Linked DNA regions of Homo sapiens: all the other regions are linked to region 1. Evidence: promoter capture Hi-C in 16 types of primary human blood cells and fetal thymus (Javierre and others, 2016). All regions are on one chromosome and are shown on one strand. The core of a region is centred on a gene start or on the middle of the fragment in contact, and the rest is flanking DNA. Distances in the headings are between cores, read along the strand shown.

Region 1 (4,588 bases), core at 303-2,802:
ATTAGAGACGGGGTTTCACCATGTTGGTCAGGCTGGTCTCAAACTCCTGACCTCAGGTGATCCACTCACCTCAGCCTCTCCAAGTGCTGGGATTACACGCGTGAGTCACCGTGCCCGGCCTACATTTATCAATTTTTAATTTTATGGTTTATATGCTCTTTGAAAAGTCTCTCACCACTCCAACCTTACTTTTGTTTTTTTCCCTTGTTTTCTTCTGGTATTTTCATAACCTCTCTCTTTTTTTTTTTTTTTTTTTTTGTTTTTTGAACATTTAACTATTTGCTTTGTTTGGAATTTACTTTCATGTGAGGACATCAAATAGATCCAGTGTTTTCCTCCGACATGCCTCGACTGGCAGGAGACCAAAGTTTTCATTCTATTACTAGAGAGTAGCTATAGTTACAGAATCAGGTATCCTGAGAGAGATCATTTATGCCCAGGATGAATAACTTGTCTTATCTATTAAATCTATTAAATCCTTTGGAGATTTCACTTTTTTTTTTTTTTTTTTTTGGGACGGAGCCTGTTACCTAGGCTGGAGTGCAGTGGCGCGATCTCCCAGCTCACCACAAGCTCCGCCTCCCAAGTTCAAGCGATTCTCCTGCCTCAGCCTCTCGAGTAGCTGGGATTACAGGCATGTGCCACCACCACGCCCGGCTAATTTTGTATTTTTAGTAGAGACGGGGTTTCTCCATGTTGGTCAGGCTGGTCTCGAACTCCTGACCTCAGGTGATCCGCCTGCCTCAGCCTCCCAAAGTGCTGGGATTACAGGCGTGAGCCACTGCGCCGGCCCCAAAATTTCAGGTTTTGATAGACGGAATGGGTGAAGAAAATGAGAGCTAGCAAGGAAGAACAGGATGCAGAGGCAAGACTGGAAACTCTCCAAGAAAGGTTAACTTTTCTTAACTCACAAGTTAAACAAAGGCTGCAGGCTCCATGCGGAGCTCAGGCACCCAGCGGTGACCGATCCAGACCAGGTCCTCCCGGAAGCCCGGCCTGCCCGACAGAGCCTTACCACAGAGCCCCCTCAGGCGTCCTCGCCAGGACGGGGCGGAACCCTGTGTAGCTCCCACCCCCGGGACGAAGGCCGCTGCCAGGGCCGCGCAGCCACGCGAGTGGAATCAGAGGAGCCTCGAGGCAAGGAGAGCCGGGCCCCGCTCCCTGCGCCCGTCACCGCCATCCTTGTTGTAGGGAACTCGGCCCCCGAGCCGCCGCCGCGCTCCGTGGGCTCCCAATGAGCCCCTACCCCAGCCACCCGCTGCGTTTGCGCCAGCCTCCCAGACTAGCCTGGGGTGCTGAAATGGGGGCGGGCCCGAGCCACGGGTTGGGGCGGGGTCTGATGCGCGCCCCGCCCCGCAACGCCCCGCCCCCCCGCGCCTACCTCTCCAGTCCGCGCCCTTCGGCGCCCGCCCCGCCAGTCCCCGCCCCTCCTTGCCCAGCCGCTCCCGCCCCTCCCCCGCCTTCCCGCGCGGCCCGCCTCGCCTTCCCCCCCCTCCCGCGCCCCCGCGCGGCCGGCCCCTGGCCTTCCTCCCCTTCCTGCTCCGGGCCCGCCAGTAGCCGGCCGCGGCGGCGAGGGACTAGGACGCGGCTGGAGCGGCGCCGGGAGACGAGGGGCTGAGAGACGGCGGCGGCCGAAAGCGGAGAGATGCTGGGCGTGGCGGCCGGGATGACCCACAGGTACGGGCCGCACCGCGCGGCCCCCGCCACGTCCGCCCCGCAGCTCCCGGCGGGCCTTCGGGCCGGGCCGGGCCGGGCCTGGCGCGGGCGGGCGGCCGGGCTTTCCCCGCGGCCTCCCCCGGTCGGCCGGAGCCCCGACCCCCAGCGCTCGGGTGGCGGCGTGGCTGCGTCCGGGCCCGCGGAGGAGACGGCTGCTGTTCACTCCCGGGTGTCCGCGGTGGCACAGGCGCTGACGCCGCCCCGCTGCTCCGAGAGTTCCATAAGACAAATCAGTATTTGCCGAGCTAATCATTTATCTTCTAGCAGTAGGGATCAGCGGGTCGCAGACGTCTTGGTCTCAGGACCCCTCTTGGGACTAGAGGACCTGGAATGGTGGCTATCTCCATAGACTGTACTAGAAAGGAAAACCGAGACACTGAAGTTACTATTAACTCATTGAATAAATCCGTGGTATGTTAACGTACATACCACATTTTTATGCAACATAGGGTTTTGCTAAAACAAAAGAGTTCGTGGGACGACTGGCGTCCTTTACAGTTTGCGAATCTCTTGAGTTGTCTGACTTAGTAGAGACAACTACGTTCTCCCATCTCCTTTGCAGTTCAGTCTGTTGCGGTATGTTTTTATATGAAGAAAATCTGATCTTACACAGATGTGTAGTTGGAAAAGTGAGTACTGTCTTAATAGCTGTTTCAGATAATTATGGGTATTCTTTATTACTACACCAAAACTACGTAAGTGGAAGTTTCTCAAAGGCTGGTTTGGACGTGGAATCTGAAGCTACTGTCAGCGGACTTTTCACACAGTTTCGTTAAAATTCCTTGGTCTGTCTTGCAGTTTGAATGCAGCTAAAGCTCCTGTCAGTGGCCTTTGCACACAGTTACGTTAAAATTCCTTGGTCTGTCTTGCAGTTTGAATGCAGCTGTTACCCATTGTAACACCATATATTTGTCGTTTGGAAGATATTGGCTCACTGAGTTTGGCAGATCTCAAGCTGACGCATTTCATTAATAGCGCCGAATAACATTCGTTACCATCGCTATTGATTTCATTAGGAAAGTCTTTATGTTAAAAGCCGTCAGATACAAGGTGGTGTTTACAAGTTTTCCAAAATTCTCATTTTCGGTTGAAAGCTTGCTTTTTATCATTGGGAGCAAAATATTGTCAATTGTTTTCCTCAAAGTGACAGACTCACTTTGTTCAGTTTCAAGGAAGTGTCCGGCAATACAGGTTTAAATAACCCTAGTTTGTCAGTTGTTCTTTCCCGTAAAAATGGTATTTCATGACACAAGCAAGTTAATTCAGCTCATCGCTCTATTACAGAAGTGCACGCCTGCCATTTGGTCACAAGTAACAAAAAAGAGTCAAAGCTCAAGATTTGATAACAATAATTTGTACTCCTTCATCATGGACTTTTTTCCTTAAAAAAAAGTATTGACTAGTAAGTTGATATAAAATTTAAAGTATTTGTGAGATATTAAGAATAACGGATATGTAGTGTAATAAAGGAGATAATAGTTTCCTTTTAAGACCTTCAAACCTCTCTGGTCCAGTGTCTCTCCGCATCCTATCCCCTTCCCATCCTGAATTTACCATTAGTAATTTACTTTTTGGAGGGAGAGTAATAAGTTCATTCAAATTATTGTGCATCCGTAACCATCATACATGTCCAGAAATCTTTATCTTACAAAACTGAAACTCTGTACCTATTAAACAATAATTCTCCATTCCCCTCCTCCCGCCAGTCCCTGGCAGCCATCATTTTAATTTCTGTCTATGACTTTGACTACTGCTGGTACCTCATATCTCATGTAAGTGGAATCATACGCTATTTGTTGTGCATGTCATAGTTTGTTCCTTTTTGTTGCTCAGTAGTGCTCCATGGTATGGATGTACAGCAGTTTAACTGTTCACATGTTTGAAGGACATTCAGGCTGTTAGTTTTGGGCTATTAAGAAAGCTACTACGAACAAATAGACAGGTGTTTGTTGTTGTTTTTGAGACAGTGTCTTGCTTAGTCACCCAGACTGGAGTGGAATGCAGTAGCATGATCATGACTTACTGCACCCTAGACCTCCCAGGCTGAAGCAATCCTTCCACCTCAGTCCCCCAAGTAGCTGGGACTACAGACACACGCCACCATGCCTGGATAATTTTTGTATTTTTTTGGTAGAAACAGGGTTTCGCCATGTTGTCCAGGCTAGTCTGGGGGTCCCAAACTCCTGGGTTCCAGCAGTCCACCCACCTCAGCCTCCCAAAGTGCTGGAATTTTAGAGCCACTGTGCTCAGCCTGTCTAAGTTTTATGTGAATGTAACTTTTCCTTTTCTGGGATAAATGTCCAAGAGTGTGCAATTGGCAGGTTGTACAGAAATCGTATGTTTAGTTTTTTGAGAAACTGACAGTTTTTTTCCAGCATGACTGTACCATTTCACTTAAAAAGTGAAATTGACATTATTTTCCTGTGAGTACATAAAGGTAAAGAATTCAGGGACAGTACCACGGCCCTCTTTAGTGCTAAGCGGCCAGCAGTTGTACCGACTGTTGTTTTTGCACTATCTGTGTGTCAACACAGTCCACAATGCTACAGTGACTTCTTAGGAATATCTTAGTATGATGAAAATAGTTTTGATCTCTCGGATCCCTTAGAAAGGTCTTGGAGACCCTCAGGAGTTCAAGGCCATACTTTAAGAACCACTGTTAAAGACATAATCCTAAATGATGAAGGATATGCAGGTATTGGGGATATTTAAAAAGGAACAAATACAAGGTTTCTCTTAAAATTGCTCTTGAATGCTTGTGGTAGTGTGTGCCTTGTAGTTTTGGCTAGTTTTAGTAGGATGTAATAACTAAGACTTGGACCACCATGGAAGAAGCAACTTTCTGCCTTTCAGGATTTTCCCTGATAAGAAA
Region 2 (4,756 bases), core at 2,078-4,577, 180 kb after region 1:
TCATCTAAAGACGTAAGTGATTAACTTCTTTTAATATATAACTAAGGTCTGAGTCCTGAAGACCTCCCTCTGGAGCCTCAGTAAATTTACTTAATCTAATTGGTCTAGATGTTGGGGTGATTTTTTTTTTTTTGAGACGGAGTCTCACTCTGTCCCCCAGGCTGGGGTTCAATGGCGCAATCTCAGCTCACTGCAAGCTCCCCCTCGGTGCCGGGGTGATTACCCTTATCTTGCCTCCCGCTAAGTCACAGAGGTTTGGGGAGTTCTTTCAGACCCCCAATAAACTTGTCTGTGGAGACCTGGGGAGTTTCTTCAGACCCGCAATAAAACTGGTTTAATCCTAAATGGGTCCTGTTGAGAACTCCTTCGTTATGGGCTGGGTGCGGTGGCTCATGCCTGTAATCCAAACACTTTGGGAAGCTAAGGTGGGTGGATCACGAGGTCAAGAGATCGAGACCAGCCTGGCCAACATGGTGAAAGCCCATCTCTACTAAAAATACAAAAATTAGCCGGGCGTGGTCATGCATGCCTGTAATCCCAGCTACTCAGGAGGCTGAGGCAGGAGAATCACTTGAACCTGGGAGGCAGAGGTTGCAGCGAGCCAAGATCCTGCTGCTACACTCTAGCCTGGGTGACAGAGGAAGACTCCATCTCAAAAAAAAAAAAAAATTCCTTCATTATTGTGTCATGCTTTAAGGCCCAGGACAGGCCTAGGCAAAAGTTTTGATGGCCTTTTGTTACATCCCAGCCTTTGTATAAGGGCACTGGCTTTTAGTATTTAACTTCATTCAGTAATTACTGAAACAGTTGTTATGAAAGTCTGCATTAGTGAGACCTGGCCTGCCACAGGAGGTTGCAGTGAGCTGAGATCTTGCCACTGTACTCCAGCCTGGGTGGCAGTGTGAGACTCTGTCTCAAAAAAGAAAAATGATGCAGAAAGATTTGTTTGACACAGGGTGGGCATAAACTTTCAATTTGTAAAAAACATAGTATCTGTGAAGTACAATAAAATGTAGTGCGATAAAATGAGGTATGCTTGGACAGCAAAACATCATGTTGTACCTAGTAAATGTATACAATTTTTATTTGTGAATTATACCTCAATAAAGCTGGACAAATGAACTGTATTTGCAACATGGTAGGGAATATATGACATTGGACACTAATGCAAATGGAATTTTCAGTGCCTTGGTGAAAATGTTATACCACTGAACAAAAAAAAAATGTAGTGTAAAATGAAGTAAAATGTGAAAATCCCTAATAAATGCAGAAATATGAACTGCTTATCCAAAAGAGAAAAGTCTTTTGAGTTCCTCAAGAAGATTCTCTCTTTGGATGCTGGGCGCGGTGGATGCCGGGCACCTGTATCCGAGCACTTTGGGAGGCCGAGGCAGATGGATCACTGGAGGCCAGGAGTTCAAGACCAGCCTGTCCAACACGGTGAAACCCCGTCTCTACTAAAAATACAACAATAACCCGGGTGTGATGGCATGTACCTGTAATCCCAGCTACTCAGGAGGCTGAGGCACAAGAATTGCTTGAACCTGGGAGGCAGAGGTTGCAGTGAGCCGAGATTGTGCCACTGCAGTCCAACCTGGACCACAGAGTGAAACTCCGTCTCAAAAAAAAAAAAAAAAGAAAGAAGGAAAAAGAAGGTTCTCTCTTTGGGCACTCCTTTTCGATATATTCAACATAAATGGATTAATGATACCATTTTTACTAGGTGAGTATGTTTGGGCAAGTTGCTTCAGTGCTCATTCTCTTGGTTTCCTTTTTTTTTTTTTTTTTTTGGAGACAGGGTCTTTCTCTGTCACCTAAGCTGGAGTGCAGTGGAGTGAACATAGCTCACTGCAGCCTCCAACACCTAGCCTCAAGAGATCCTCCTGCTTCAGTCTCCCAAATAGCTGGGACTACTGGCAGGCACCACCATGCCTGGCTAGTTTTTAATTTCTTTTTTTTTGTAAGCACAGGGTGTTGCTATGTTGCCCAGGCAGGTCTTGAACTACTGGGCTCAAGTGATCCTCCCACCTCAGCCTCCCAAAGTTTTGGATTACAGGCATGAGCCATGGTGCCTGGCTGTCTTTTGCTTTCCTTATCTGTAAAAACTGAGGATAATAACAGTACCCTTACAAAGTTGGTGGAAGAATGATATTAATACAAATGAAGTGCTAACAGAAAGAGCTTTGGAACACAGCAAGTACTTGTTAGCTATGGCTATTGTTATCAACACACTTTTCAAGGCAAACTTGTGGTTTCACCTATCACCTGAGATATATGACTTTTAAGTCCATCAGATCTTCTCTTTTGGTTTTTATTTTTAAATTAATTAAATATTATTATTATTATTATTTTGAGACAGAGTCTGCTCTGTTGCCCAGGCTAGAGTGCACTGGCACGATCTCAGCTCACTGCAACCTCCACCTCCCAGGTTCAAGCAATTCAGGTGCCTCAGCCATCCAAAGAAGCTGGGATTACAGGCATGCACCACCATACCCAGTTAATTTTTGCATTTTTAGTAGAGATAGGGTTTCAACACGTTGGCCAGGCTGGCCTTGAACTCCTGGCCTCAAGCAATCAGCCCATCTGGGCCTCCCAGTGTGCTGGGATTACAGGCGTGAGCCATCGTGCCTGGCCCTCTTTTCGTTTTAGAGATAGGAATCTCATTCTCTTCCACAGGCTGGAGTGCAAAGGCATGAACATAACTCATTGCAGTCTCCAATCCTGGGCTAAAGGGATGTTTCCCCCTCTGCCTTTGGAGTAGCTGGGCCTCAGAACTGTGCCGCAACTACTGACTTCCATCAAGATCTCTGTCCTACCATTTCATCTTCCTACTAGGCTATCCCCACATGGATATATAAATGGTACCTCAAGTGAAAGAAATCAACTACCTAAAATAGGATTTTCCACTCCAAACTAGATTTTCTTTACATGTCATTTCTGTTAATGTGGGTCACACACACTGGTAAGCTCAGAATCATCTTTTTCTTTTCTTTTATTCACATCCAATATTGTTGAAATAAAACAAAATGCTGTTTTTCCTTTTTTAGAAAGGCAATACTTGTTCATTATATCAAAATTTAGAAAATATGGAAAAACAAAAAGGATAAAAAATTATCCACAACCAAAATAGCCCAAATTTCCAGTTAAAAATGTCAACGCATTTGATATTTGTCCACATAATTCAGACTGTAATGTTTACACAAATGTGAGCTTTTAAAATCTAAAAGGTTCTCACTATTAAAAATGTTTTGTTAAATTTTGTTTTAAAAGTAAGATTTTAATATCCAAATTCCCAAAATAGACATTTTTGAAGATTTGGAAAATACAGACGGCTCAAAATCTTTACATTATTACTGTTAAATTTTGGTATGTTCTGTTATTCTGCTAGTGAAATATATATAGATTTGGGGGGGCTATTCCTTTTCCTTTTTTTTTTTTTTTTTGAGACAAGGGTCTCACTCTGGTGCCCAGGATGGAATGCAGTGGCGCTATCACAGTTCATTGTAACCTGGAACTCCTGGACTCGAGGGATCCTCCCGCCTCGACCTCCCAAAGTGCTGGGGCTACCAGCTTAAGCCACTGTGCCAGGCGAATGGCTATTCCTATATACACAGTTGACCCTTGAATAACATGGGTTTGAACTGCCTGGGCCCGCTTATAAGCCGACAGAAAATACAGTATTGGAGGGGCCTGCATATAGAGAGGTCTGACTTTTCCTCTAAGTGTTCCACCCGCAGGACTGACTGCGGGATTTGAGAATGCGCGGACTTCTTCTTCTTCTTTTTTTTTTTAGGAAGTCTTACTCTCGCCCAGGCTTGAGTGCAGTGGCGCGATCTCAGCTCACTGTAACCCTCGCCTCTCAGTTTCAAGCGATTCTCGTGCCTCAGCCTCCCGAGTAGCTGGGATTATAGGGGCCCACCTCCACGCCCAGGTAATTTTTTGTATTTTTAGTAGAGATGGGCTTTCGCCATGTTGGCCAGGCTGGTTTCGAACTCCTGACCTCAGGTGATCCGCCCGCCTCGGCCTCCCAAAGTGCTGGGATTACAGGCGTGAACCACAGCGCCCGGCGGAATGCGTGGATTTTGGCATAAGACGGTGGTTCTGGAACCAATCCCCCGCCGAGATGACTGTTTAAAAAATTGTAATTGTCCAAAACTTAATATTTGTGGTCTTTTTCATTATGCAGTTCTAAATCTCCCTTTTTTTTTTTTTTTAAATTCAGACGGAGTCTCCCTCTGTCGCCCAGACGGCGCAATCTCGGCTCACTGCAACCTCCGCCTCCCGGGTTCAAGCGATTCTCCTGCCTTAGCCTCCGGAGTAGCTGGGACTACAGGCGTCCGACACCACGGCCGGCTAATTTTTTGTATTTTTGGTAGAGATGGGGTTTCCCTGTGCTAGCCAGGATGGTCTCGATTTCCTGACCTCATGATCCGCCCGCCGTGGCCTCTCAAAGTGCTGGGATTACAGGCGTGAGCCACCACGCCTGGCCCTCATTTAATAAGATATGAATTTAAAAATGTATGCTTTAGTATTCACACATGTCCGATGCAACGTATTTAACCAGTCATCTCCAGAAACTTTGTTCCAATTTACACGTTCACCAAATTGGCCTGAGTGCTTTTTTTCTTCCAATGCATTGCGCACTTATAATTTAGAACAAGTGACCAAAACGCTTAAGAGCCCATCACGCAAATTGTTATCTGCTGGAAATCTACGCCCTAGGCTGTGGACACTGGCGGCCGAAATCTGATCCCGG
Region 3 (4,322 bases), core at 1-2,500, 180 kb before region 1:
ATGGGTGTAATGAGTTACTGCCACGTCAGAGAAATTGGTTGCTCCTGTTGATATGGTTTGACTGTGTCCCCACCCAAATCTCATCTTGAATTGTACTTCCCATAATCCCCACATGTTGTGGGACGCACCCGGTGGCAGGTAATGGAATCATGGGTGGTTGCCTCCATGCTGTTCTCATCATAGTGAGTTCTCATGGGATCTGATGGTTTTCTAAGGGGCTTTTCCCCTTTTTCTCAGCACTTCCTTTTGCTGCCATCATGTGAAGAAGGATATGTTTGCTTCCCTTTCCACCATGATTGTAAATTTGCTGAGGCCTCCCCAGCCATGCGGAACTGTGAGTCAGTTAAACCTCTTTTCTTTATAAATCACCCAGTCTCAGGTATGTCCTTATAGGAGCCTGAGAACAGACTAATACACCTGTCAATGCCAAAATGATATATTTTGGTGGATTTAAAATTAGCAAAGCCAGCCTGCCCAACCACAAACACCTCCATCTCAGGCACATGGTACTGCTTTAAATAAATATCAGTAGGACATGAAAGGTTGGGTCTGAAAAGTCATCACCTACCTAACTTCCTCAGATTCCTACCTTTTTTTATATTAATCTTGAAGCTTGCTCTCCCTATCTAATTTTGTATAGATTTAGGAATGTTAAAGTGTGTGGATAGGCTGATGCTATAGGTTGCTTCTAGGGGAGGAATCTGCCAAGAGATACTGACCCCTGACCCTAGTCATAGACTGTTCTCACTTCACGGTAAGTCAATAAAATGATAGCTTTCCTGTTTGAGGGATGCCCAAATTCTTTGCAAAATCTAATTACAAGTCTGAATAGGCAGTAAAATTTGTTCTTGCTATTTATATAATTGTAAACTTTAACTCAGAAATGGACATTATAAGCTGTTCTCAGAGTATCCAAAGATCAGGTTGGCACCAACAGGTCCCGAGTAAGTCAGGTTTTCTTCACCCCTCCCTGTGTCCCTCTGGGGACCGAGCACGTCCAGGGAGCAAGGAGCAGACCAGTCAGCAAAATGTAAAACCTGTCTTAACCTGGAAGGTGGGGCTGTCTTATCCACATTTGGCTCCACCTCTGAGCTAACTTCTGATTAAAGCTGATCTAAGGAAAGGACTGTGGTCTTCTGTGTGTTGGGAGTCCCCTGGTCATGGCAGCCTACCCACACTGTGGCATCTTTAGATCTATACAAAGTCAGATGGGGGGACTTTGAAGATCTATACAAAGTCAGATGGGGGGGCTTTGAGATCAATCGGAGGCTTCTATGGCCATGGATGCTGTGAGGCAGGTGAAAAAGAGATTAAGGACACTAGCCTAAGATAATACTTCTAATAACGAGAACTAAAAATATTAATAGTATTAATAATGAGTATTAAAAGTATTAATACTTTTAATAATGAGTATTACAGGTTCACAGCTGACTCTGTAGACCTAGTGCCAGATACTGGAGAGGAAAGGAGGAATCAGACACAGCCCCTACCCTCGAGGTGCTTCTGTGGGGAGACACAGAATGAACTATAAGTCTCGTTCTTGCTTTTATTTTCTCTCTGATCACTGGGCATTGAAATGGTTAGGCAACATGCAGAATTCTAATTTTACGTAACCCAATGTGAGTACTAAAATCTTTTGACACCAAGTCCTGTGTTACTAAGGATTGTCTTAAAACAGAACTTTGGAATTGCAACACACATTCTCACATATAACTGTTTTGTTTTGAAAACATCAGGAAGGGGGAGCATGTGGCAATTTGCTGGTCTCTCCTTACAGAGAAATGAATATGAGTCTTCTCACCACGTTTTGGGTCTGTTTCTTAATGCACAATTTCATGATTTCGATAAATAAGCATATGCCTTAGGAGCTGAGGAGAGTATAAAGGTGAGAAGCTTCTAGATTCTGCCCTTAAGGAGCTCAAACTCTGGACCCAGAAATAGCAAACTAATACTGCTTGGAGTAACATCATGGCTGTGGGAGCCAGGCTAAACTCCACCTAGGGAAAATGCCTTGGTCTCAAAGACAAAATTCCACCTAGCTCTCCACTTAGAGCAGAGGTTTCCAACTAGTGGCTTTTAGGTTGAATATGGCTTGCAGATGTGCTGTTTTTAAAAAATTTTGAATTAGTTGTCAACATGTAAAAGTCAGGAGATGTTCCATAAACTCCCAATTTCTGGCACCAATGGCACCCAGAGCTCCATGGCCTCCTGCTATAAATGGGGCTGGCACTCACCAGATGCCAACAAGTTCACTCCACCTGCTTACTGCCCTGCCCCTGCAGGCATTGGGGTTGCGACTCTAACAAACTATGTGGCTCAGAGTTCGTGATTGAAATGCATAAATCCTATCTAGAAGGACACAGACTTTAACAGGACCCATGCAGGAAAGGGGATCCAAAGCCTTGGAGCCAGGGAATTGTGCCAGCCAGTGGAGGCACACTACTGAATAATAATCTTCAGATTAATAAAATCACCCGTTTCCATGTACTTTATTTTATTTTATTTCAGATTTTTGTTTCCCTTTAATAAAGTTAGTTTTGAAAAACTTTCTCAACTTAAGTTAGAGAAAGGCAAATTTGGTATGATGATAGCCATTAAGGAGAAAATGCAGAGATAAAGGAGTGATCAAACTTCGTCAGGAGAAAGTGCTGAAGTGCAGTTGCTCTGCTGACCCATCCTCACACACAAACCACAGGCTCTTCTTAGAGGTCTTTTCTTTTTTTTTTTTTGAGATGGAGTCTCGCTCTGTCACCAGGCTGGACTGCAGTGGCTCAATCTCGGCTCACTGCAACCTGCGCCTCCCGGGTTCAAGTGATTCTCCTGCCTCAGCCTCCTGAGTAGCTGGAACTACAGGCTCCCGCCACCAGGACCGGCTAATTTTTTGTATTTTTAGTAGAGACGGGGTTTCACCATGTTAGCCAGGATGGTCTCGATCCCCTGACCTCGTGATGCGCCCGCCTCAGCCTCCCAAAGTGCTGGGATTACAGGCGTGAGCCACCGCACCTGGCCAACAATGTTTTATGGTTTCATTTCTTAATATTTATTCTTTTCAATGCTATAATAAATGGAATTATTTTCTCAATTGAATTTTTGGATTGTTCATTATTAGTGTAAAGAAATATGAATTTTTGTATATTGATCATGTAATCTGCAACTTTGCTAAATTTATTTATTAGCTCTAATAGTTCTGAAGGGATTCATTAGGGTTTTCTGTATACAGTCGTGCCTTGCATAATGATGGGGAAATGTCTGAGAAATGTGTCATTAGACAATTTTGTCACTGAGTGAACATCATAGAGTGTACTTACATAAACCTGGATGGTATATCCTTCTCCATTACATAGCTCCATTATAATCTTATGGAACCACTCTCATATATGCAGTCCATTGTTGACCAAAATGTCATATGGCTCATGACGATATAAGATCATGTCATATGCAAATAGAGATAGTTATACTTCCTCCCTTCCAATCTGGATATCTTTTTCTTATGCAAGTTTTGTGACTAGGGCCTCAAGTGCAATGTTGATTAGAAATAGTGAGAGCAGACATCCTTGCCTCATTCCAGATTTTAAAAGCAAATATCTCTCTTTCACCATAAGTATAATGTTACCTGTGGGACTTTCATAAGTGCCCTTTATAAGAATCAACAAGTTCCCTTCTATTCCTACATGGGTGAGTGTTTTTATCATGGAAATATGTTGGATTTTGTAATGTGACTAACAGATCTGCATTCATTTCCTATGGCTGCAAAACCCTCAACAAATTAACACAAACTTGGTGGCTGAAAACAATACATATTTACTCTTTTACAGAGGCCAGACATGTAAAATCAGTTTCACTGGGCCGAGATCAAGGTTGCAACAGGGCTGGGCTCCCTCCAGAGGCCCTAGGAGACAATTTGTACCTTGCCTCTTCTAGCTTGTGGTAGCTACTGGCATACCTTGTCTTGTAGCCACATCACTCTAATCTGCCTCCATGGTCACACTGCCTTCTTATTTTCTGTGGACAAATCTCTGTCTCCCTCTTATAAGGATACATGTGATTGCACTTAGTGACCACCCAGAATCCAGGAAAATCTTCTCAAGATCCTTAATTTAATCACATCTTCAAACTCCTTTTTGGCACACAAGGTAGTATTTTCAGGTTCCAGAGATTAGAACATGGAAATCTTTAAGAAGACCATTATTCAGTCTAGAACATCTTCTATTACTAATTTGTTTTATTTTGTTCATGAAAAGATGTTGGATTTTGTCAATTGCTTTTTCTACATTGATTAAGAAAATTACGTGTTTTCAAATTATTAATAATTCTGTTAATAT
Region 4 (4,678 bases), core at 1,139-3,638, 150 kb after region 1:
TCAGTCCTCTTTTAAAATATGAATTAGTGGACAGGCACGGTGCCTCACACCTGTAATCCCAGCACTTTGGGAGGTCGAGGCAGGTGGATCACGAGGTCAGGAGATCAAGACCATCCTGGCTACCACTGAAACCCCATCTCTACTACAAAAAAATTAGCCGGGCGTGGTGGCGGGCACCTGCAGTCCCAGCTACTCGGGAGGCTGAGGCAGGAGAATGGTGGGAACCCGGGAGGCAGAGCTTGCAGTGAGCCAAGATCACGCCACTGCACTCCAGCCTGGGCAACAGAGCAAGACTCTGTCTCAAAAAAAATAAATAAATAAATTATGAATGAGTATTTTCTAGAAATTCAACTTGCTAAGCCTGTAATACTTAAGGGTAGTTTATCTAGATACAGTACTTTCTTCCCTGATAAGTAGTATCATTGGAGCCCTTAGGTATAGGAGAAGAGGAAGAAGTTTAAAAAGTGTAAGTGGGCCGGGCGTGGTGGCTCATGCCTGTAATCCCAGCACTTTGGGAGGCCGAGGGGGGCGGATCACGAGGTCAGGAGATCCAGACTATCCTGGCTAACAAGGTGAAACCCCGTCTCTACTAAAAATACAAAAAAAAACATTAGCCAGGCGTGGTGGCGGGCGCTTGTAGTCCCAGCTACTCGGGAGGCTGAGGTAGGAGAATGGCTTGAACCCAGGAGGCGGAGCTTGCAGTGAGCCGAGATTGCACCACTGCACTCCAGCCTGGGCGACAGAGCAAGACTCCGTCTCAAAAAAAAAAAAAAAGTGTAAGTGGATTAAAAGAGAAACTTGGTCTAGTTCATAATATTTTTAATAGGGCTTTCCCTGGCTGCTGGAAAACTTAGGCCAGTAAGCATCTCTTTGTTTAAAGTCCTACAAGACAATTTGAAATAATTCATTGTTCATGCCAAAATTCTAAGTACTGTTTTTCTTAGCAAGTGTAACATAATCAGGAACAATGGGTACAAGTAAAACATTCTTTGGATGATATTCAAAGCCTTATTAGCACTGCACCTGAATAATAGGTCATTTTGCCTCACTCATTTGCCAAAGTAGCCATTTCTAAGTTAAGGAAGTTTTTAGATAGGCTCATAGCCTTGTATTTCGTTTTAGATTGTAAGCTCAATGGCAGGGATACTATATTGGTAATTATGTTTTCATATAGCAACCACCACAGTATATTCTTGGTGCTTAATAAATGTTTATAATTGTTAACAATAACCTGTTGTATATTGTTTATTTTGAATGGTATATATGTGAAATACATATGAAAATTGAAGTATTCATGAATATATAATAGAAACAAGTAAATGAATAAAATGACCTGGTTACTATAGATAAGCCAAATTTTGAACCATCTAGAACAATGGTGTAGTCTTCCCTCTACTCAATGTAAATGCTGGGTTTTTTAATTATTATTATTATTAAGAAGGAGATACAGTCCAGGCACAGTGGCTCACACCTGTAATCCCAGCACTTTGGGAGGCCGAGGCCAGTGGATCACTTGAGGTCAGGAGTTTGAGACCAGCCTGGCCAACACAGTGAAACCTCATCTCTATTAAAAATACAAAAATTAATAGGGCGTGGTGGTGTGCACCTGTAGTCCCAGCTACTTGGGAGGCTGAGGCAGTAGAATCACTTGAATCCAGGGGGCAGAGGTTGCAGTGCAATGGTGTGCTGGGATTACAGGCAATGAGCCACTGTGCCCTGCCCTCAGCTGGAGTGCAATGGTGCAATTAAGTTCTTTCTTTTTCAACTCAAAATTTGTCTGCATCTTTACCCAAATATCCAGATCTGATACTCTAGGCTTGGGCTAATATAGTGGGGTGGAGGAGGCTTGGGTTAAGGTTTAAAGTTCCAAGGGCTGAACCGGAATAAATGGTGTATTTATCAAGGGAAGAGCAAGGCAAAACCAGCAAGTCCAAACCATGGAGGCCTCAACCGAGGTGAGGGGAAAAGTTAGGGAGCCTTAGGAAAGCTCTGAGGAGGGACCCCAATTAGGGGGACCGTAGTTAGGGTATGAGGTTTGTGAGATCAGGACTGGAATTGCTGCAAGAGACCCTATGATTGGGTGGCAGCAGCACGTTGTGGAGATGAGCCTGCTTCCTCAGCCTCTTCCTCTTGTCAGAACCCTTTGCCTCTCCCTACACACGCACACACACATGCATGCACCATGCTACAGAAACCTTTCTCAGTCTTGCCATTCTCTCAAATTATGCTTTGGTCTTCCCTTCATCTTCAGATTCTTTAAAGAGAATCAAAGTTCCCACTTCTAGCATGATGAAGTGAGGAGGTCAACAAATCTTTCCAAAATGTAACTGTATAGCTGGACAAACCATTTAGCATTCTGTAATTTTACCAAAGGCACCGCACAAATGGGGATGTGTTTAAGAATGAAAGCTGGCCAGGCGCGGTGGCTCACGCCTGTAATCCCAGCACTTTGGGAGGCTGAAGCAGAAGGACCACTTGAGCTCAGGAGTTCAAAAACAGCCTGGGCAACTTGGTGAGACCCCCGTCTGTACAAAAAAAAAATCAAAAAAGGCATGGTGGTGCACACTTGTGGTCCCAGCTACATGGGAGGCTAAGGCGGGAGAATCATTTGAGCCCAGGAGATTGAGGCTGCAGTGAGCTGTGATCACACCACTGCACTCCAACCTGGGCAACAGAGTGAGACAGACCCTGTCCCTAAAGAAAAAAAAGAAGAATTAAAGTGAGCCTTGGATAAGACCAGCCTGTGTCTGTGGCATCTTTGCCCAGGCTGCTACCCCCATTTACCCCAGCTGTTGATAACACACACAGCGGCCCCCAGCAGGGCAGCCTGTGGAGATAAGCTCCCCTGCCACCTCGTTGCAGGGGCTGGAGGCAAGAGTGAGGAAGGTTTTGATTTGCAGCATGGCTAGTTAAGGTGGTGATATCAGTGACCAGGAGGAAGAAAGGCCACTGACTCCTAGCCTGAGGCTCTGGGCCTTTGGAGACGAGCAAATGACCTGCAGATTAGTCATGGATGTAAGAGGGAGCTCCGGGAGGTCGGAGAGCCAGAGGGAGCTTAGTAAACTCTTCACACTACCCAAATGGACTGAAGGCTCATAGCTGGCAGAGATTAGAGCAAGCCCAAGCCATGTCCATATGCCCAGGGCACACAGCCTGTGTGTGTGCCGGTGCCAGTGTTAGGAAGTAAAAGCCGGAACACCCTTGCAAATGGCCCGGGGCGTGCCTCCTCCCCATTGCACATAGATCCAGCAGCAGATGGTGGAAACCATATTGGCTTTAACTGATGTTTGACAAACTATGCAAACAAGAAGCGACCTCTAAGAAGCCATTCTGAAAAATTAAAGCAAACAAATGCCAACAATAAAACTGAACAATGACCTGAGTGAGTGCACACTGTGGAGGAGACAGGCTTCCTGCATGGAGTCCAGCCAGGAGACAGTACAGAATGCATGGAGCAGCTATTGGAAGACAGTGAAAACTAAATAGTTGCAGGCAGCTTTCCCAAGAAGACCAGAACTTGAAGTACCACCAAACCAGTGGTGAGATAACCATGTTTCCCCTACGGCATCCCGTGACTAACCTGGCAGTGGGCACCAGGGTGCAGATAGAAAGAGCTCCAGAAGATGCCCTCTATTTCTGGCTCAAGTAACGGGAAAAGGGTCTCCTAACATTCCGAGGGAATCCAGAAGTTCGTTCCTCCCCATTTTTCTTTTCCCTGTTCTCTCATACCTCAGCCCACAAGCAGTCCCACAGTGGCACTGGCACCAGCCCCAAGAGGAGCCCAGGAGCCAAGATGTAGGAGGGAACCTTCTCCAACTGACAGAGCTGTGGTCCCAAGAGGGCAGAAACAATCCATGTTGCTTCTCTTCCAATTCAGTCCTCCCACTTCTTGGCTTCAGATGTAGAAATGCATGGTAGAGCCAGATACCGAAAGCCTGTTTTCTGCTTGGAAGACTAAAAAGAGAAGCCTCAGCAAATGAAAGCAACAGGGTAATTGCTGAGAGAGAGTTAATCAGTGAAGCAACCCCATTAACCTGTCTATAAACCCCAGGGCTCATTCTTGAGCTGCTCCTGCATAGATCTCGTCCTGTTCAACACACCAAAGATTGACAGCTGAACTGAGAGACCATCACCCACAGACACAACTGGCCACTGGGTGGTGCACAAGTCAGACAGAACTGAATAGTCCTGTGAAGACTTTGGACACTGAACTGACTTTGGAACCAGACTGCAGAATGGAGGGGTGGGAACTTGTGGCTTGAACCTAATCAGGTAGATTGCCTGGCCAAAATGAAAATACCTATCATCTCCATAGGATTTAATTTCATTCAATGATTTTTTTTTTAGTAAATTTGCAATGTTTTACAGCCATCCCCAAAATCTAATTCCAAAATATCTCTATCACCCCAACAAGAGACTCCATTCAGGTTGGCAGTCACATGCACTCCCAGATTTCCCCTCTGCCCAGCCCTTGGCAATCACTAGTCTACTTTCTGTGTCTTTGAGTTTGCCTACTCTGGATATTTCATATAAATGAAATGATATATGAGGTTTTGTGATTGGCACCTTTCATTTAGAATAATGTTTTCAAGGCTGATTCATGTTGTAGTATGCATTGGTACTTCATTATTTTTTATGCAAAAGTAATATTCTATTGTATGGCTATACCACATTTTTC
Region 5 (4,693 bases), core at 1,366-3,865, 240 kb after region 1:
TCTGTGAATGACATTGCATTTTCAAATGTTCAGAAAACTAACTTTGCATTCCAGCGTAAACCTCACTTGGTCATGGTACAATTTTGTTATGTGGTTGCATTCAATTTGCATAAATCTTGTTATAAATTTTTGGGTTTATATTTATCAGGATACTAGTAGTTTTCTGATACTGTCTTTGGTTTCCATGTAAGAGTAATGCTGGTTGGGCTCAGTGATATGTGTGTGTAGTCCCAGCTATTTGGGAGGCTGAGTAGGAGGATTGCTCGGGAGTCCAGGAGTTCCAGGCTGCAGTGCGCTATGATTGTGCCTGTGTATAGCCACTGCTCTCCAGCCTGGACAACAACATAGTGAGACCGCCTCTTAAAAAAATGGTAATACTGGTATCATAAAATGAATTGAGAAGTATTTTCTGTATTGCTGTTTTCTGGAAGAGACTTGGTTGTTGACTTGGTGCCATTTTCCCTTTAAATGTTGAGCAGTTTTTACCAATGAAACCACGTCTGGAGTTTTCTTAAGTTTTAAAAAACACTATTGATTTCTCTTCTTTATTATTTCCTTCTTGCCTTGGATTTTGCACTTTTTTTCTAGTTTCTTTTTTTTTTTTTTGGCTTTTGAGACAGTCTCGCTCTGTCTCCCAGGCTGGAGTGCAGTGGCATGATCTCAGCTCACTGCAACCTCTGCCTCCTGGGTTCAAGCAATTCTCATGTCTCAGCCACCCGAGTATCTGCGATTATAGGCGTGGCTAATTTTTGTATTTTTAGTAGAGACGGGGTTTCACCATGTTGGTAAGGCTGGTCTTGAACTCCTGACTTCAAGTGTTCCTCCTGACTTGGCCTCCCAAAGTGCTGGGATTGCAGGCATGAGCCACTGGGCCCGGCCTAGTTTCTTAATTTAAAAAAAGCTTAAATTATGAATTTAAGATCATTCTTTATTTCTAGTATAAGTATTTAATTCTATAAGTTTCCTTCTAAGCACTTCCTAGCTGCAACTGGCAAGTTTTAATATGTGATATTTTCTCTTTCATGCAGTTTGAAATATTTTATTTTCCTTGAGACGTTCTTTTTGATCTGTACGTTAGATGCTACTGTGCCATTTCCAAATATTTGGTGATTTTCCTTCTGTATATCATTCTCTTATTGATTTCTAGTTTAATTCCTTTATGGTTTATGAAAATATTTTGAATAATTTCAGTTCTCTTAAATGTTGTGAGGTCTGTCTTGGTGAATGTCTTCTGTGCACTTGAGAAGAAAGTAGAGTCTCTTTTTTTGCTGACATTGTGCCATTGGCAGTTCCAGTTTTTTTGGGCTGCTGTAGCACCCAGGCTGGGTTACAGGAGTGGCAGAAAAACTCCGTGTGGATCTTAACCTCCAGATTATCTCTCTGGTCCCAAGATCCTTATTCTTCCTGTTTTTATCCACCTTTCTAAGGCTTCTTAGAGGTGCTCTGTATGTTTCAGTGTAGGCATTTAGTTATAGGTTTTGAGGAGAGATAGGGTGAAGTGTGTTTATTCTATCTTCTCCAGAAGCCCAAGTTCTCAATTCCCTTTGAAATAGATTATATAATCTGTTTTGTAAATTAGCATTTAAGTGGCATAGTATTTTGTGACTTCCTCTTTGCAGAAATCTCAGACAGAAGAAATAACTAGCACAACTGACAGTGTATATACAGGTGGGACTGAAGTGATGGTACCTTCTTTCTGTAAATCTGAAGAACCTGATTCTATTACCAAATCCATTAGTTCACCATCTGTTTCCTCTGAAACTATGGACAAACCTGTAGATTTGTCAACTAGAAAGGAAATTGATACAGATTCTACAAGCCAAGGTAAATCTTGATATATGTTTATCATGTGTTACATAAGGGACACCTTATATTTGAGAAGATAGACTTTTAAAGGCTGATCCTGAAAACTCCCTTTAAAACACATTTTGATATGTATAAAGGGGCATCTTAGTAGTAGTAGTAATAATAACCAGAAAAATTATACTGTGTTGCCAACAAATAAACATGTTTTTATTGATAGAGTTGTGGTTATTAGGGAATACAAAGCATTATGATTCTGACCTATTTTCCTGAGTTTAAAAGACAATAGTGTTGTTACATGTAATTTCCTTTGTGATAGTGTTTTCATTTAAATATTGTTTGAATTATATTATCACTCAAGCATATTCAAAGTGTTTTAATTATGAAGGAATTGTAGAAATATTACGGATTTAAGAAAGTTTTATGGTACTACTTAAATGTTTCTTATTTTCTCTAATACTTTTAAAGCTTGTTAAATTAATTATTCAGTTACAGTAACATATTTGGTATTGCTTTCTCTCTTTTTCATTTCGATTTTGGGGATGGAAGTGGGAAGTTTAAGTTGTATTGCTTTGTGTACCTTACCTACTTTTTAAAAATAGCCTTCAGTGTCACAAATATTACATTTATAGGCATTTGAGAGTCTTAATGTGCTAAAAGAGGAAGACGACTTCATACCTAAAACCTCATACATTTTCATATGAGGAAAATAAGGCATGGGGCTTTCAGAGATCATGCAGCTTCACATTAGCAGAATTAAGAGAAGACCGCAAAAGTCCTTATGACGAAGTGTAAATGAGACATTTGGTTTTTATGAGCTTATTTATAGTACAGAACACAAAAAGTTTTTATACAGATGTTTCCTAAAACCCTGCCTTTGACTGAATGCTTGCTTTAGAGTATAGTAGGCTCCATAGAGCAGAAACTGTAGTTTAATATCTGGCTTAATATAGATAGCTCTCCTTCTCATTTATAAAAAATAATTTTTGGCATGCATTTGGTGTAGTATTGTAGTATTCTTTGTGAATAGCACCTGTAAAATTAGTAATACTGAAGTAGCTCAGAATTGGATGTATTTTGTAACTTGACAGAATTTAAATAACTCCCCTCATCCCAGAGTATACAAGTCTCTACTGTTCTCTCTAGGTCCTGGGGTAAAGCTTTGATATTCAGCACAAATTAAATAGTAAATTGTTCTTTTTTTCTTTTGCCAGGGGAAAGCAAGATAGTTTCATTTGGATTTGGAAGTAGCACAGGGCTCTCATTTGCAGACTTGGCTTCCAGTAATTCTGGAGATTTTGCTTTTGGTTCTAAAGGTAAGATCAAGAGGAGAGACTTTTAATGACATTGTTACAGAATCAAGCACAACTGAAAAACTAGTTTTTTGTTGCAGTATATAACTAAGTTAGAAGTTTCTTCCCTTACCCCCCAGTTTGTTTTAGTGTTTTAATAATGAAGGGCTTCTACACTTTATTTTTTGACGTCAATATAATCTTAAGAATTTTCTCTTAATTTTATATAAGCCATGCTGATAGTCCTCCCCATTCTGAAATGCAGAACCATTTTTGAGCTTTGGAATGACTCTGACTTTGATCCTTACTCTTTTAACTATACTTTCATATGTGATTTGTTAATATTTCAGGTTTTGTGAGTTTATACTTTTTAAGGATATGATTTTGTAGTTTTCTTTTTTGTACTATCTTTGGATTTCAGTATTAGGGTTGTGCTAATTTATTGTGCTAAGTTTATAATTGGTGTGCTTGCCCATCTTCTTTAGTGGAGTTTCTATTTTTAATCCATTTTGGTAACATTTCTAGAAAAGAATCCATTTCCCTGATTGTATCCGGTTTACTAGTGTAAGGCCATCCATTATATTTTTTCATTCTTGTAATATCTTTCACATTGCTCTTTATAGCACCCCTTAAATAGTTCTAGTACAAGGTGTTTGATTTATGGAATACATTTTATTGAGGATATGTGCTTAAATGATTAATGCAGTTCAGAATTCTGTTCTTTCCTCCTCTATATTTGCACTTTTTTCACAGCTCCTGCCACCTAGAAACACATAAAACTTTTAGAAATTACCTTCAGATGTGATGTTATGTTGGAATTCATGGCTTCACTGATGTCGTTTATTTTTAATTTATGAAATAGCCTGAAATCAAAGGGTAATGTGTCAGTAAATAAGCAATATAGTAGGTACACTTACACAAAAAAAATCCCAAAAAAATAGATAGGCTCCTTGTTACTCAGTGTAGCCTCTTTGAAGTATTATGTCAATATTGGACACTAAAGTGAAAAGTAGGCAGTACTCACATATCGGGAGGAAACCATGCCTAAATAAGCCTTATGCATTAACATTCACTTCTCACTACCACTTGTCATTTTTATTCACCAAGCTCTTGTGTATTGAATGCTTACTTTAGTTAATTTAGATTGTGCTTGTTAAAAATAGTATTTGAAACTGTAAATGCCTTGCAGTCAGTTTTGTTTGTATCCACAGGTTTTCATAGGGAATCTTTATACTTTTGTAAATTTCCAGATAATTTAGAGTTTCAATCTTATTTTCTCTAATGTCTCAAAGCTTGCCAAATTAATTATTCACTTACAGTAACATTACTGTAGGCCCAGTTATGACCTGTGAGACCCAGATATTGATATATTACAAATACTTTTACAAGTGGGTGATTCTAATGTGTTCCCAGGGTAGAGAACCACTATTTTGAAATAATTTTGAATTCTTCTGCCACATGTCCCTTGGGGTTATTTTTTAAATTTTTGCTTTTGGCAAAAAAGTTGCTGAACAATTTTGTTTTTGTTTTTGTTTTTGAGACAGGATGTCACTCTGTTGCCCAGGCTGGAGTGCAGTGGCATGAACACAGCTCACTGC
Region 6 (4,581 bases), core at 1,051-3,550, 160 kb before region 1:
GTTAGTTTCAAGTACAACACATAGAATCATCATGTAGCAGAGTACATCTGGAATTCTTCCAGAGCAGTGAGAAGTTTATTTGCACTGGAACTAGTAAATATCATATCTTCACCCTTAAAAATAATCAGGAATAAAGCGTGATGAAAATGAATGGGAAACTTCTCATTTTTCTCTTATGTATCTGCTGTAATTTTCTATAAATAACATTCCAAAAGAAAAAATACAATGAATGTCAGAAATGCATAAGCATTGTCAGGAAGCATATGAAAATAGCATATGTCAGGAAGCAAAACAGGATCTCAGTCACTATAGTAGCTGCTGTATTATTTTTGGCATGTCTTTCTATATGGATGTGGAATTTAAACAAAGAAAGAACTAGAACATAGGCAAATATCACAGTGTAAATGGTATATTGTGGTACACCTTTTTTTGTTTTTTTGAGACAAAGTCTTGCTCTGTTGCCCAGGCTGGAGTGCAGTGTCACACTCTCAGCTCACTGCAACCTCCGCCTCCTGGGTTCAAGCAATTCTCCTGTCTCAGCCTCCTGAGCAGCTGGGATTACAGGCATGCGCCACCATGACCAGCTAATTTTTGTATTTTTAGTAGAGACGGGTTTTACCATGTTGGTCAGGCTGGTCTCGAACTCCTGACCTCAGGTGATCCACCCGCCTCAGCATACCAAAGTGCTGGGATTACAGGTACAAGCCACTGCGAATGGCCAGCTGGTACAAATTTAAAGCATTGCCTCTCCCCAGGACGTTGATCTGGCACACCAGTTCCAACAGGCCGGCACAGATCCTTTGATCACCTGAGTGATCACATTAATATTCTACCTTTTTGACCTAACATGTGGCATCCATTGCCCCAAAACTAGATTAGAGCTTGACTCTTTTTGAAGCAATCTGAAATCAATTGTTTTAAAACTTTCCCAACATACAGGAAAACTAAATATCCATTCCTATTCCTAGGAAAAACCTACAGCACACTTCCCATTATTTTTTTGTCATGTCCTTCTTAGTGTAACAATTAGAATTGAATACTCCACAAATTCTGAATTTACAAAGTGCCTTCCCTAAACCATATATGCCTCTTATTTTGAGTTGATACCATATTTACCAAGTAATTTAAGGGGAGAGCACCAAAAATTCTTTGCATTGTGGTAATTCGATGTCATTGGGTAAGATCATATACTTAATATTATTATTTACCATTTATTACATGAGGTTCAATTATTTGTTCACATTGCTGCCTCCCACCGCTCTGTCATAATCTTCACAAGGGCAACCACTATGACTTATTTTTTTCTGCTTCCTCATTACCTTAGAATATACTTGATACATAGTAAACAATATGGTTAGGTATAAATGAAGGAATGAGTTACATTCTACGTTCATACCTTTCTATCCTGTTGCCCTCAAAACAGACAAAGCATACTAAATATAATGCCATTTCATATATATCTTTTTCCATCTTACAGTCTCTTGCCCTATTCCAGCTAGTTTATGAGATAAGAAATGTCAATGATGATATTATATCTTTTTGCCATAATCACAGGATGAATAATATACTTCCTGATCTAGGACCATGAACACTCTGAAGCATCCTTTCCCAGCAATAGCAAGCGATGCACAGTAGGTGATGCTCTCCAGATGTCTTCCATTTTGAAGCAAGTGAAAAGCACAGTAGCATTCACTCTGTACCTGCCGTACATACATCAGGTACACAGGAAGTGTTGATGAGTGAATGATGGAAAGGTGAGTCTGCAGGCAACAGCAGTAGTCTTTCTAGGGAACAGGACAGGGGCTTTGGTATAAATACATTTCACAAACAAAGCTCCAGCTGAAAGTCCTGTGCAAAGGATGTGATGGGAAGTTCTTTTGTTTCTATCCGTAATGAAAAACTGTCTTGAACATCACCTGGCACATTAGTAAGAAGGTGGCAGTAGATGACAACAGAAGCTTAATTCTCCCCAAGTTTAAAATGAATCCATGATTATTTATTAAAATGTAAAACCACCTCTAACTGCACCCAGAGATGTTCTATTTGTAAATTTCCTTTCAGCATCTTACGTATTTTTTACATAAGTGAGATCACACCCCATGAAGCTTACATCTTGCTTTTTTCTTTTAATATAACAACCAATTCCCAATTACCTGGCTCATAAATTCTTCAATAACAAGAGAAGCTGGAAGCTCCTAGGGCAATATTGAGTATGTCTGAAACAAACATGGTCAATTCTATCTCTTCTTCATATTACTTTCCCTCTGGATTAAATGTTCAGGGAGAAGGTGTAGATTTTAAAATTAGACTTCAGAACATCGGTGTCGCTGGAAATTTTGTCTGAACTAAAGAATCAGACAGTGGCTCCAGCCAGAGCTCTCTGCACTTCCAATACCTCTGAAGATGGTGGGGAAGAGCAGAGAAAGAAGGAGTTCTATTTATTTAAAAATGATTTTACTTTGAAGACCAGTTTGTAAAATAAATATTGGTGTAGCATAAGCTTGAGATGAGTCACCTGGGGCCTATAAATATTGATATAGCATAAGCTTGAGATGAGTCACCTGGGGCGTTACATTTAGTATGCTTTGTCTGTTTTGAGGGCAACAGGGTAGAAAGGTATGAATGTAACTCACTCCTTCATTTATACTTAGCCATATTGTCTACTATGTATCAAGTACATGCTAAGGTAATGAGGAAGCAGAAAGAAATAAATCATAGTGGTTGCCCTTGTGAAGATTATGACAGAGTGGTGCGAGGCAGCAATGTGAACAAATAACTGAACCTCATGTAATACATAATAAATAACAATATTAAGTATATGATCTTACCCAATGACACTATCCCTGTCCATTCCCTGCCCTGTTCCTCCTCCCATCCCAATGCACAGTAACCTCTGGAAGACAATACCTGGAGGCCTAGGGCTCTCAATAAAATGGCTATAAAAACTGTTATAGGTGGACTCCATGATATTATAACATATTGTTATTCTGTCAGCTTTTAGCATACATGTCATTTGTGAGCATCCTTAGTCATCACAGAGGTCAAATCAAGAAGTAAGAATCTTTGTGAAAGGCAGCTGTTGATACTTAGGGCAGTGGCCAAATTTCCTGCATTCAAATACCGGTAATGTCACTGATGGGGTGTATTACCTTGGACAAGTTACTCAACCTCTCTGTTCTTCTGTTGTATCTTATATAAAATGGGAAGAATATTAGTATCCACTTCAAGTAGATGTTGTGGACAGTAAATGAATTATTACATGTAAAGAGTTTAGGAAGACACCTGCAACATTGCAACCCCTCCTCAAAGAGATACAATTAACACAGAGGTAGGAATCCGAACACCAGACTCTTCTGATCTCTCATTCATTTGTCCAGAACAAAATTACAGAACTTTCCTAGCTCATGTTTCCTGATATATTATAGTGACCTCATAATAATTCATCTCTCACTAAGATGTTAGAAGAAAATCAACTTTGAGACACTTTGAATCTCCAAAAGTTTCCCATTATATTTAAATTATAAACTGTTCTAATTTTTAAATAACTTTCATATTATAAAATAATATATACTTATTGAAGATTCCAGATGTATATTAAGTCATATGTCATCCCATCTTCTAGAGATAACTTTAACATTTCAGCATACATTCATCAAGCTTTTCTACACTTTTTTTGTTTTTGTTTTGTTTTGTTTTGTTTTGTTGTTGTTTTTTAGACACAGTCTCGCTCTGTCACCCAGGCTGGAGTGCAGTGGCGCGATCTCAGCTCACTGCAAGCTCCACCTCCTGGGTTCATGCCATTCTCCTGCCTCAGCCTCCCCCCGAGTAGCTGGAACTACAGGTGCTCACCACCATGCCCAGCTAATTTCTTTTTGTATTTTTAGTAGTGGGGGTGGTTCACCATGTTAGCCAAGATGGTCTCGATCTCCTGACCTCATGATCCACCCATTTCGGCCTCCCAAAGTGCTGGGATTACAGGCGTGAGCCACCATGCCTGGCCACTACACATGTATTTTTATGGTGAAGTATTTTTTGTTGCTACGTTTTAAGTACCATTGCAGGCTGGAAAAAGTCACTTTGTAGTGGTTCAGAATGAGCAATTAAATGACTATGAAAAGGTCTGACTGGTATTGTACTTTCTGCAGGGCTCTGAAAAGTAAAGCTAGATGTCAAGACAAGTGATAAAGACTACCTCATCACTCACATTGACCAGTTACAATGTAGCCAAAGAACATTTTGTTTTCAGTGCAATTAATAACCCATGTGGTTCCTTGTAACACTTTTTAAAATAATAACCTAAAGTAAAAGAAATATGCATTAATTTTCTCTCTAATGGCCTTTCTAAACCTCTGTGAGGCCCTAATTTGATCATGGCACAGTACTTCCTGATCCTGGACACATACCCAGGACCATTTCCCTGTAATTCCTAATCCAGAATCCACTACTGAGAAATCCCAAATGTCATCTTTCAATGGTATGATTTACTAATGAGATGTAAAAGTTAAGGATAATACAAGTTTTTCATACAGCTAGGTACATTCAATTTTCTTTTTACTCTGAGATTATGCTCTCACACTTGAT

The links. The method cuts DNA at HindIII sites, captures the fragments that hold promoters and counts their contacts. A CHiCAGO score of 5 or more calls a contact.
Region 2: a contact is called between a fragment that was not itself captured here and the fragment with the promoter of LIMS1 in region 1, in 1 of 17 cell types (neutrophils). The highest score is 5.5, in neutrophils.
Region 3: a contact is called between a fragment that was not itself captured here and the fragment with the promoter of LIMS1 in region 1, in 1 of 17 cell types (endothelial precursors). The highest score is 7.7, in endothelial precursors.
Region 4: a fragment that was not itself captured here is called in contact with the fragment with the promoter of LIMS1 in region 1 in 1 of 17 cell types (neutrophils); the score reaches 7.1 in neutrophils.
Region 5: a contact is called between a fragment that was not itself captured here and the fragment with the promoter of LIMS1 in region 1, in 2 of 17 cell types (monocytes and total B cells). The highest score is 7.3, in monocytes.
Region 6: a contact is called between a fragment that was not itself captured here and the fragment with the promoter of LIMS1 in region 1, in 1 of 17 cell types (megakaryocytes). The highest score is 5.0, in megakaryocytes.

Annotation. Positions count from the first base shown.
Region 1 is chr2:108,532,918-108,537,505 of GRCh38, forward strand. It overlaps LIMS1 (LIM zinc finger domain containing 1), which reads left to right and starts at 1,553. Exons shown (of 10, transcript NM_001193483.3): 1 at 1,553-1,677. The coding sequence starts at 1,646. It overlaps GCC2-AS1 (GCC2 antisense RNA 1), which reads right to left and starts at 1,302. Exons shown (of 3, transcript NR_135290.1): 1 at 912-1,302. RefSeq lists silencers at 416-710, 1,199-1,798. The HindIII fragment of the contact is 7,547 bases long and covers 1-2,808 here.
Region 2 is chr2:108,714,577-108,719,332 of GRCh38, forward strand. No RefSeq gene overlaps it. Among named protein-coding and RNA genes, the nearest start is that of RANBP2, 2.5 kb to the right of the region's middle. RefSeq lists an enhancer at 3,849-4,756. The HindIII fragment of the contact is 8,304 bases long and covers 1-4,756 here.
Region 3 is chr2:108,352,677-108,356,998 of GRCh38, forward strand. It overlaps the pseudogene SULT1C5P. Among named protein-coding and RNA genes, the nearest start is that of SULT1C4, 23 kb to the right of the region's middle. The HindIII fragment of the contact is 1,281 bases long and covers 611-1,891 here.
Region 4 is chr2:108,686,017-108,690,694 of GRCh38, forward strand. LIMS1 (LIM zinc finger domain containing 1) reads left to right here. Exons shown (of 10, transcript NM_001193483.3): 10 at 1-1,230. Among named protein-coding and RNA genes, the nearest start is that of LIMS1-AS1, 9.8 kb to the left of the region's middle. The HindIII fragment of the contact is 7,259 bases long and covers 1-4,678 here.
Region 5 is chr2:108,774,113-108,778,805 of GRCh38, forward strand. RANBP2 (RAN binding protein 2) reads left to right here. Exons shown (of 29, transcript NM_006267.5): 24 at 1,620-1,824; 25 at 3,018-3,119. Among named protein-coding and RNA genes, the nearest start is that of CCDC138, 10 kb to the right of the region's middle. The HindIII fragment of the contact is 692 bases long and covers 2,270-2,961 here.
Region 6 is chr2:108,367,723-108,372,303 of GRCh38, forward strand. It overlaps the pseudogene GMCL1P2. Among named protein-coding and RNA genes, the nearest start is that of SULT1C4, 7.9 kb to the right of the region's middle. The HindIII fragment of the contact is 395 bases long and covers 2,104-2,498 here.